2 separate regions of the Homo sapiens genome follow, and region 2 is linked to region 1. Evidence: promoter capture Hi-C in human tissues and cell types (Jung and others, 2019). All regions are on one chromosome and are shown on one strand. The core of a region is centred on a gene start or on the middle of the fragment in contact, and the rest is flanking DNA. Distances in the headings are between cores, read along the strand shown.

Evidence for each region. Contacts are between HindIII fragments. The study calls those that stand out against the background at their distance.
Region 2: a contact is called between a fragment that was not itself captured here and the fragment with the promoter of TTLL6 in region 1, in 1 of the 25 tissues and cell types used here (thymus).

The regions. Positions count from the first base shown.
Region 1 is chr17:48,814,674-48,820,622 of GRCh38, forward strand. TTLL6 (tubulin tyrosine ligase like 6) reads right to left here and starts at 2,556. Exons shown (of 16, transcript NM_001130918.3): 1 at 2,297-2,556. The coding sequence starts at 2,399. It overlaps LOC105371813 (a long non-coding RNA gene), which reads left to right. Exons shown (of 4, transcript XR_001752926.1): 3 at 1,166-1,319; 4 at 1,756-2,285. RefSeq lists silencers at 2,262-2,311, 2,402-2,751. The HindIII fragment of the contact is 9,954 bases long and covers 12-5,949 here.
Region 2 is chr17:48,288,082-48,293,538 of GRCh38, forward strand. All of the region lies in intron 4 of SKAP1 (src kinase associated phosphoprotein 1), which reads right to left. Among named protein-coding and RNA genes, the nearest start is that of SKAP1-AS2, 3.5 kb to the right of the region's middle. The HindIII fragment of the contact is 3,810 bases long and covers 1-3,535 here.

The DNA.
Region 1 (5,949 bases), core at 1,306-3,805:
TCAGAGGAGGGTCCCTGTCTTATTTCCACTTCTGAAGGACTATACCTGTTGACTACTCTCCTCTTCCCTGGAGGTGTTGCAGAGGGTGGAAAATGTTTAGTGCTTTCTTTTATCTTTCTTTCTTTCTTTCAAACTCCAGCCTGTTGCCCAGGCTGGAGTGCAATGGCACGATCTCAGCTCACCGCAACCTCTGCCTCCTGGATTCAAGTGATTCTCCCGCCTTAGCTTCCCGGGAGCTGGGACTACAGGCATGCACCACCACGCCTGGCTAATTTTGTATTTTTAGTAGAGATGGGGTTTCTCCATGTTGGTCAGGCTGGTCTCAAACTCCCAACCTCAGGTTATCAGCCCACCTCAGCCTCCCAAAGTGCTGGGATTACAAGCATGAGCCACCGCGCCCAGCAGTTTAGTGATTTCTTTTGCAAAACTGAATGAACACGGGCATCCTATAAATGATAGAAAACAATAATTTGGTGGTTGACTAAGAGAACCCTGGGAGAACATATTTCAAGTTGTAGCCAAGTTTTTTCATCTCTGACCTTCATCACCTGGACTTTTTTTCTAGTCTATAGGAATATATAGAGCACTGAAAGTTTCGCCTATTGTGTCTGTCTGTGAAGTCCCTCTCTTTCACCAGATAATAGGTTTTCCTTCACGTACCTCCTTTTCATCTTTTGGTCCTCATTTCCCTACTGGAAGCATCCCTCTGAAGGCCTCCAGTGGTTCTTGGAAAATGTCAAATTGGATGGGGGAAGAAAAGATGTGGAGGTAAGACCTCTGGATCTTGCTTTCAGCTTTGCCCCTCCAACTCAGTATGTCATAAAAATCCAAGCAATTATTTCCTCTCCCACTCCCTATCTTCTCTATAATTACAGGACCACTAGGAGGATAAAAGCTTCACATCTAGAAAAGTGCTTTGAGCTTTGATTCAGACAGGATAAAATAAGATGTTTTTTGTGGTCTTTTGACTTTTCGTTTTAGTCACACTTTGAATTTCAGCCCGGGGCCTGAAAGGGTCCTAAGCAAAATGTGAACTAACAAGGGAGGGATGGGGCACCCAATTGCTCAAGGGCTTTGCCAATAAGAAGTGTTGAGAATGACAAGTCACCTGTAGTGGGAACAATAAGAATCTTGCTGACTTAGATGCCATCTTTTATTCTTCTAGAAACTGAGAAATTCTGCAAGATTGGAAGATGCAATATTCAGATCAGGCTCATGCCTAGTCATTTTCTCCACAATATTCAGGGCATTGCTAACAAAGACAGATGGATCTGGATCCAAATCCCAGCTCTACTAGTTTCTAGAATGTGTGACCATGGGTGAGTAACTTAGCCTCTCTGTACCTCAGCTTCTGTATAAGTAAAATGGGGATGATAATAATATTCATTTTATGGAGCTGTTTTAAAGATTAAATGAGTTAATATTTCTAATACCCTTAAAGCAGTGCTTGGTTCAAAATAAAGGCTATATTGTAAAATGAAAATATAAACCAGGCGTGGTGACTCATGCCTGTAATTCCAGCACTTTGGGAAGCCCAAGTGGGAGGATCACTTGAGCTCAGGAGTTCGAGACCAGCCTGGGCAAAAAAGTGAGCCCCCCCACCCCCACCTCCATCTCTTAAAACAAACAAAAAAGAAAATATAATAATAAGATTGGCATAAATATTAAATTTTTTTGGAGTGCCTCGCACATACTGGTGCTTTCAAAACGTTAGCTCCCTTCCCACTTCATCCCCCAATGTGATATTTTTCCTAGAGTTCAAATCCCAAAGGAGAACTTTCTGCAAAGCCAGAAGAGTATTTTTTCAGGAGGGGTGAGAAATAACAACTGGAAATGAAAGAACACCAGGCTGGAAGGCGGTAGGGGCATCAGCAGAGGACTATGCCGGCCATGAAAAATGGGAAGTGTCTTGCTGGAAGGTTTCTCCAGACAAAGGAAGAACAGTGATGAAGAAAATGACCCAATGATGGGGATGAAGGGGATGAAGAGAGTTGTGTGAGTCCCAGGGATCGCTGGTGTCTAAGCGACAGCTCCTTGGTGGACTGTGGTTTAGGAAATCGGGGGAGGGCGGGAAATGAACGTTAATAAGAGGGACTGAGAAGGGGGGAGTCCCGGAGCCGAGGGACCGTGAGGGTGAGTGCCTGGCGCCATGGAACGCCACCAGGGAGGGCAGCGGGCTACCCTGGGGACCTGGGTCCCGTGTGGGTTTAAGGAGACGTGTCTAGCCAGGTTTTCAGGGGACAGGCACCAGGAGGCTGCGGTCTGGAGCCAGCACCGGGCTTTGGGGCGCTCTTACCCGCAATTCCTACTCCCCCGTCTCGCCCCGCTGGGCTGCTAGTCCAGCTTGCAACCACACCTGCCGGCCCCCTCCTCGAAGGATGAAGGAGTAACGCTCCCATTGGCTGCCAGACAGCCCCAACCCCAACCCGCGCTCGCCCTAACTTTGGGTCCGCCCGGCCCTCATATTTGCATACGGGGCCTTCTAGGCCTTCGATTGGCCCCTGCAGTAGCTGCCATGCCCCCTCCCTCCCGAATCCAATTAACCGCCCAGGCGCTAGGGGAGGGGCGCGCCCACGGTTGTCCCGGGAGACGCGGAGGACGCGCGCACCGCGCACCCGGGCGCCAGGGGCTGGACCGCCGCTCGCTCCCGCAGCCCTACCCTTGCCCAGCGAGCCAAGCCGCAGTCCCAGCCCATCCGCGCCGGTGCCGTCGGGCGCCGTGCGCGGGCGCGGCCAGAACGTCTGGCTCCAGAGGTCCAGCTGCGCGGGGCTGCGGTGAGGGAGGGGGGCACCTTGAATTTAGGCCTTCGGGAGAGGGCAAACCTGAAGCAGGAGGCACTGTGGGAAAACACTGGTTGGAGACTTAAATCAGCATCTCAGGCATATTAGTGCCTGTGTCACCTTGGGCAGGCCACGTTACCTCTGTGAGGCTTAGCTTCTTCAACAGGAAAATGGGTGTTGCAAACCTGTGATGACCGCTCAGGCGTATTGAACCCTGACCTCACCTCCAGAGTGTGGGGGTCATGGCCTCCAGTGAACTGATCAGTAAGAGAGGGCCGCCTAGACCGACTGAAGAGTCAGTGAGACTTAAGGGGTTAGGGGTCTGGGCTTCTCAGAGCAACCATTTGGTCTCAGGTGGAGAATCTGTAGTAGTGACTGGATTCAAATCATTGAAGATGGTCGGGCGCGGTGGCTCACGCCTGTAATCCCAGCACTTTGGGAGGCCTAGGTGGGTGGATCGCTTGAGCTCAGAAGTTCAACACCAGCTGGACAACATGGCGAAACCTCCTCTCTACTAAAAATACAAAAATTAACCGAGCGCGGTGCGCGTACCTGTGGTCCCAGCTATCGGGAGGCTGAGGCGGGAGGATCGCTTGAACACAGGAGGCAGAGGTTGCATTAAGCTGAGATCGCGCCACTGCACTCCAGCCTGGGCAACAGAGGGAAACTCTGTCTCAAATAAATAAATAAACATTGTTCATTTGGGCCTGAGTTGGTAACCTAAGTTCCTCCCAACCCAGATCCCCTTCACCTGCTGATGTGCACAGGCAGAACACCAGAGGCAAGGGTGTAGCTTAGCCTCAAGCCGACCCTGGAAGCCTACTACGTGGTGCTTACAGTCACCCCGGAGTGAACAGAAGGCCCAAAGTGGAACCAGTGGCCCATCTGCTGCTCTTTCAGAAACCTCTCTGCCATCCAGTCAGCACTCTTCCCTTTTCCCCCCGCAGGTGGCCCCGTGCTGTGGTGCCCCTCCCCGACAGGCCCTAAGGGGCCAAGTGACCATCATTAACTGGTCACCCAGCAGATGCTTCCCTAAGACCAACTGTCCCAGCCTGGTCCCCTCCCCCATCCCACTGTTGTCTTTCCCCAGCGTCCTACCAATCTGCTCTGCCTAGCTCCTGTTTGGTCTCCGGTCCCTCAGGAGTGATATTGTGATGGAAATGAGGGAGAGGATACAGGAGAGAGCAGCAAAGATTTACGGCTTTCAGAGAGTTTCCACTAAAATCCCTGACAACTGGTTATTTATGAGATGTTGCAACGGGAGCTTATAGGCCAGAGCCTGGCACTACTGTCCTTTCAGGGCTGATGTCAGGAGCAAACACAGGGTGAACACGGTGAACAGTGGAGCTGCCCTCACTGTAGAGCAAAGCAAGCTTCAACCCGAGTGACAGCCAGGAAAGCAGAGAATATCAGTGATTTGTGCCTGGCAAACCCTAAACAGACAAATCCACAAGGTAAACACTGAGGGACTTACTCGGCCTGGGCATGAAAAACTGAAGCAGAATGATGGAGGGTCCTAATTGTCAAAAAATTTGGACCATGTCCTAGAAGCTGTCAGAGGCAAGAGTGTGTGGAAAAATCCAGGTCCAACCCTGTTGTTTTCACTGCTGTTTTGTTCCTAAGGCACCCACCTGACTAAATAGATAAATAGTAAAACAACAGTAAAATCCCCGTAAGGTTGTTTGCTCTGCACTTCACACACAGCGTTTTTTCTCAGTTTGGAGTTCTTCCTTTAAGTAGTTAATGAAACAAACAGAGATCCTGCTTCTGCTCCCTGAACCAAGGTCCCTCCTAGAAGCCCTTTCTTCCTGTGCCAGTCAAAATATATTTTTTTTTTCAGACGGAGTCTTGCTCTGTCGCCCAGGCTGGAGTGCAGTGGCGCGATCTCAGCTCACTGCAATCTCTGCCTCCTGGGTTCAAGCAATTCTCCTGCCTCAGCCTCCCAAGTAGCTGGAATTACAGACACCCGCCACCATGCCCGGCTAATTTTTGTATTTTTAGTAGAGACGGGTTTCACCATGTTGGCCAGGCTGGTCTCAAACTCCTGACCACGTGATCCGCCCACCTCGGCATCCCAAAGTGGTGGGATTACAGGCGTGATCCACTGCACCCGGCCAAAATAATTTTATTTTGTTTTTTTCGAGATGGAGTCTTGCTCTGTCGTCCAGGCTGGAGTACAGTGGCACGGTCATGACTCATTGAAGCCTCAAACTCCTGGGCTCAAGCAACGCTCCTGAGTAGCTAGGATTACAGGCTCCTACCACCATGCCTGACTAATTTTTTAAAAAAACAATTTTGTAGAGACGGGATCTTGTTTTGTTGCCTCTCAAAATGTTGGGATCACAGGTGTTAGCCACCGTGCCCAGCCAAAATAAAGTCTTGATATGTGTACCAGGAATGATGTAAGGAGTGGGAATGAGGCAAGGATGCTTAGATAAAATTTTGCATACCCCAGATTTTTTTTGCTTTAAGTCTGCAATGCATGAGAGAATGTTGTAGAAGTGTATATAATCACAGAATTGGGCTTCTTTTAAATCAGAAGAGTTCTTAGAGACCTCCATGGCATTTGTCCTGTTTTCAGATGAGGAAACTGAGGCCCAGGAAAGTGGGATGGCTTTGCTCAAGGCTTGCAGTGGGGTCATAGAGTCCATTACCCCTTCCTCCACATGCTCTGATATTAGTGAAATAGAAATAGCAATAGAAACTGCTGCCAAGCACCTCTTCTGAATCCTCTCCATTTTGATGTGTAACTGTATCTGATGGGGCTGAAAGAGCCCCTGGACAGGGGACTGCCCACCCATGAGCAGTGGAGCTCCCAGGTTTCTGGGTTTTTTTGTTTTTGTTTTTGTTTTTTCGAGATGGAGTCTCGCCCTGTCACCCAGGCTAGAGTGCAGTGGCACAATCTCGGCTCACTGCAACCTCCGCCTCCCGGGTTCAAACGATTCTCCTGCCTCAGCCTCCTCAGCCTCCTGAGTAGCTGGGACTACAGGCACCTGCCATCACGCCTGGCTAATTTTTGTATTTTTAGTAGAGACGGGGTTTCGCCATGTTGGCCAGGCTGGTTTTGAACTCTTGACCTCAGGTGATCCACCCACCTCAGCCTCCCAAAGTGCTAGAATTATAGGCGTGAGCCACTGCACTCAGATAATTTTTTTTTATTTTTAGTAAA
Region 2 (5,457 bases), core at 381-2,880, 530 kb before region 1:
TGTTACTTAATTTGACAAATATTGAATTCTCTAATTGATTATTTGCTAGTCTGATTTCTATGAATTCATGGGAGAGTTTAAGACAAGTGGTAACATTTAATGAAGGCGTGTTCTGATTAATTATCTCTCAGTGATCTGTCTGACATACAGTGAGTTATGAAAGTCATCAATAATTTCCCCTTATTTTTAAATAGCAATAATTCTCTCTCTATAAGAAGTTATATCTTAAGGGTTTTTTAAGCTATAATTCATCAAAAACAATGAAGCACTGGCTAAGAATCTATCAAAATAGTGGCTGACTACCAGATTGAAAATAAATTTACGCTGGGTGCAGTGGCTCACACCTGTAATCCCAGCAATTTGGGAGGCCAACGTGGGTGGATCATCTGGGGTCAGGAGTTCAAGGCCATCCTGGCCAATATGGTGAAACCCCGTCTCTACTAAAAACACAAAAATTAGCCGGGTATGGTGGCGTGCACCTGTAGTCCCAGCTACTCGGGAGGCTGAGGCAGAAGGCTCGCTTGAACCCAGGAGATGGAGGTTGCAGTGAGCCGAGACTGAGCCACTGCACTCCAGCCTGGGCGACAAAGTGAGACCATCTCAAAAAAAACCAAAGCAAAGAAAAGAAATTTAAACATTTTAGTACTGGAGGCAGACTGCTAGGAATCTTAGCCAACTTGTTATCATAACCGTGTCTACCTAAAGGCAAGCAAGAGAAATGCTGGGAAATAGCACAAAACAGTGATTTTGAGAAAATACAAGAATGATATATACATATAAAATAAAAGTATATAAACTTGTGCAGTGTATAGCAAAATAGCTACTTGTAATATAACATGAATAGTGTGGCTTCAGGCAATTGAACAGAGAAGTGAAGCTGAACGCTGCTATGCCAACCAAATGGCAAATGTGACACCTGATAATGTAAAACAGAGGCATCCCCAGGGCACCATGTAAAATTATTATAAAGTGGTGAAATAACAATATAAAGTTAATTTTATTAAAATTAACAATACTTCCCATCAGCACAAGACAATCTATATTCAAAATTAAAACAGTAGGAATGTTTATCTATTCAAGCATTCTGATAGGCTAAATATTGTTGACTGCTAAAAGAAATAAAGTTTTCAAGACTCTTTTTCCTATATATTCATAAATACTCATGCTTATGAGTAATATCATATTCAAAGGCCTGAAATTAAAAACATGTTTCCTTATGAAATTTGGTATATTTGGCATGTCATTAAAAAAATTCCTGCCTACTTTTTAAAAAAAAATTTGATATCTTGGAAATAAAAGAAGGGATAAACTGATCAAATTTTGCACTGTACTGTTTAACTACAATAAATAGAAATAGGTAAAATTAGTAATTTCACAGCATTATTTAAATATTAATGTTTGCTGATTTCTACTACTTTCTGATATTTGAAAAACTGATCTGCATTCACTTGCCAGCTGTGAGGTGTTGTGTTAAACAGAAGTATAAATTTTTAGGCTCTGTTAGCTTTCATAAAATAATACTGAGTGTTTTTTCTTGATTACAAAAAGAATGCAAGTTCATTACAGAAAAAAATGAAAATACAGAAAAGTACAAGGAAAAAAGAAATATTAGCCCTATTATGTTGTAATCTGTAGTCATTATTAACACTTTAGAACACATCCTTTCAGTATTTTTATCTATGCACCAATAAGTATATATATATATTTAAAAATTAATATTTAATCAAAAGTAAGCCTGAATGAAGACTACGTCATATTACAAAATGAATTTTATTTTTTCATCTAAACTAAAGGAGTATTTCAGAACATGTACCATGTTTCACCTAAAGAGTGGCTGCAGTTATATAATAAACTACATCTGCTGAAGAACTGAACATTAGTTTAAAATCCAGGAGTTAAGCAGTCAATAGTACCCTGAAGTGGGTGATGGAAATATTCTCAGAATTAGTATGAATTTTATTATTAAGGGACAGATGGATTTATAAGATCTCAAAATTTTGAGGCACATTCTCTATTTTAGATACTTGAAAAATCTGTTTCATATGTTTGGATATCAAAGTCCACTAAATCTACTATGATAACAATTCGTCTATGAGGCCAGTTTCATGTCCTTGATGATTAGAAACTAAACATGGGTTACAAGGTAGAGAAAGGGGCAATTCAAGAATTATTTGTAACTAAAGATGGTATGTTTTTTAATGTTATTATCAGAGGAAAGAAACAAAACCATTAAAAAATTATGTAACATTATTAAATTTAATTCAAGCCAATAATCTAAGCTTACACTGAACACTCATTCCAACTATTTAACCCTGGCTGCTGAGCTGAGGCTATAACAGCAGGTGGGTTATCAGACAATGCACTAGAATTTCACAAGATCGATTAAGTCAGAAGATAAACAAGAACTTCCCCAGCCTCTTTTATTCTTCCCGGATAATCTGTTTTATGTTCTTGAGGAAGGAAAGGCAAATCTTAAGCTTTACACTGTACCTTAGCACACTTTGTCTCTCTTCCCTATTTTATTTCTCACATAGTTTACATTACATCATGTCATTTCATTTATTGCCCCCTGAGGAATGCAAACTATGTGAAGGCAGGGTTTTCCACTGACATATCTCCAGTGCCTAGAACAGTACCTGGCACATAGTAGGTGCCCAGTAAATATCTGTTGAATAAATGAATGAGATTTCTGTAACTGGATAATTAGGGTTAGCAGAAGTCAATTTTAAATATTCAAAGAAAAGAAAAATATTTTACAAAAAATTAAAGACACTTCTGACCTGGTGTGGTGACTCACACCTGTAATCTCAACACTTTGGGAGGCAAAGGCAGGAGGGTCGCTTGAGGCCAGGAGTTTGAGACCAGCCTGGGCAACATGGTGAGAATGTTTCAAAAGACAAAAAATTAGCTGGCTGTGGTGGCATGCGCCTGTAATCCCAGCTACTCAGGAGGCTGAGGCAGGAGGGGTTTGAGGCTGCAATGAGTTATGATGGCACCACTGCACTCCAGCCTGGGTGACAGAGTAGACCCTGTCTTAAACAAAAACAAAAACAAAAACAAAATCATAAACTTTTGCTCAGAACTTGCATTTCTCTAACTTTGCAAGCACAAATTTTTATACCTGTTGACCACCTTCATGGGGTTACTTTGAAAATAGTAATTACTAAAGCCCACTTCACTGAAAATTTGAGAGTTAATTTTTAAAATTTCTGAATTTTGGGGCCACTGGTGCTGGAAAAAAAAATTACTCTCTCTGTTCTCTTTCTTGTAAAAAATTCAGTGCTAACCCACACAAATCCAGACAGCTGCCTCATCTATTCTGCTTCATCTATTCTCTTGCTGAGGACATTCTATATTCTTAGGTTCCTATTGAACAACAGCACCATTCTGAAAAATTTGCGTACTGGCAATCAAATCATTCTGCAAACAGTAACGCAGATTCCAATGATAAGATGAGTGAGCAGGATGCAAGAACATCTTAAAGATCACCTGCCACACTTGTGTTTGAGGTGCTCAATGGCTGTTTACACCAAGTGCCATCTGGCTCTATAGATATAATAACAATTATTCCATTGAGGTGTGTAGCTCCCTAAATCATATTAATATACAATGATTCCGCTAGTCTTATAGGAGTTGATGTCTTTGTGCGCTCTCATTTAACCTGGGTAATGCGCTAAAACAAGTCTGCCTCATCATTAAGAATTGATTTTTTATTTATGTGAATGTCACTGGCAATCCCATGATATCCCTTTGTAATTCAGTTGAACAGGACTGCATACTAGCGTTAATCTATTTTTATGGCATATCTTTAAAAATTTGCAACATCTTGCTACATTTGGATATTTATATAGAGATTTGTGTTCCTGCAGAAAGCTGTTGTTAGCTTTGGAGATCCACTTCATATAGCAATAGGGCAAGTATCTAATATACTTCATTAGCTATCTTATATCAGATAAGGGTTTATTTCTTTAAATTATTTAACCTTGGTATAACCTACTAAAATCACATAAATCACAAATACACTAATGAAAATCATTAGTTTAGCCTATTCAAAAAAAAAAAAAAGAAAGAAAGAAAGAAAAGAAAAAAGAAAACTTCCAACAGGGATAAAATTAAAACATTTTAAAATCAGCCCTCTGGAAGCATTTCATGAAAGTAACTTGGTGAATTTGTCATGATCACTCATTTCTTAATGTTGTCATTGGTCAATCGTTTAGTCATTGATGTTAACAACTATTCTGATGTGCTAACATTTGTAAAAAAAACCAAAAAAACAAAAACACATCGCTTTTTTTCTGGCTGATTCAAAATCTGATTTTAAAAGTCATAGTTACAACTATTTATAAATATGCCTTCATGAGTTTTGCTAATTTAAAATGAGATAAACACAATAAGCAACAATAAAAAGAAAAAATACATATTTTAAGATACCAAGAAAAAATACTACATCACAAAATTATACTTTAAATCTAGTCTTCCCAACAGTATTTACAAGATTATTAAATAATTACCTTATGGGGAAGTTCTGTCAGAACACCTCTCATATTTGGATGAGTATTATAGACTTTGAACCTGTTCATAAAGCAATAGCAAGCTTCTTCAGAAAGTCACTGAATTTTGGGCATGGGGAGATATGGTAAGTTATACTGCAGGTCTTGACCATTTCATGCTGCTGCTTTAAAGGCAGAATTACTCTTATGCTGTTGAATTTATCATACACAATTACTGATACTGCAACTCATAAGGAAGTTAAGCAAAGTTTCAGAACAAATAAATGAGGTAACAATTTTTCAAATCTAAAGGATTTTGAAGAGGATTGTCACTGCAAACTATAAACTACTGTAAGATTCTTGGTCTAGAACAATCTCTTGTGGATTATTTAGACAATTTTTAAAAAAGCACACTGGGGCAAGTTCATTTTTCTAACTTGAAAATATACGTCGTAAAACTTAATTAAAGGCTCAAACTTAAGAAAGACACATTCATAAAAAATCTACATTTGAGTTAGATTGTGAAATCTATGTAGTTTTCAATATAATATATTAATATCTGTAATCCTTAAGCTGTAATTTTTACAAATATGTTTTCCAAGAGCTGCATAAATTAACTTCTTTATGTATTGTATATGTTATAAATAACTAGAAGGAATTACGTACTTTTATATTCAATAAATAAATACATTTAAAGCTCAGATACTTTCACTAAAATAGATCCACAAAGAAGCTTGGAATGTTCTTCTGTGGTCTTCAGAACTATGTGTGGTGAGCAATTATCAGGAATAATACATGTGTCTGTTTTTGAATTCAGTAAGCCTTCTAAACATTATTTTAAAACTACTCCACAGAGATGATAAAAGGTGTATTAATCACCTAAATGCCTATAAATTGAGATTTAAGGTCAGAGATATTCCCTTAGTTTACTTAAGATATTCCTTGGATATCCCTTAGATATTTCCCT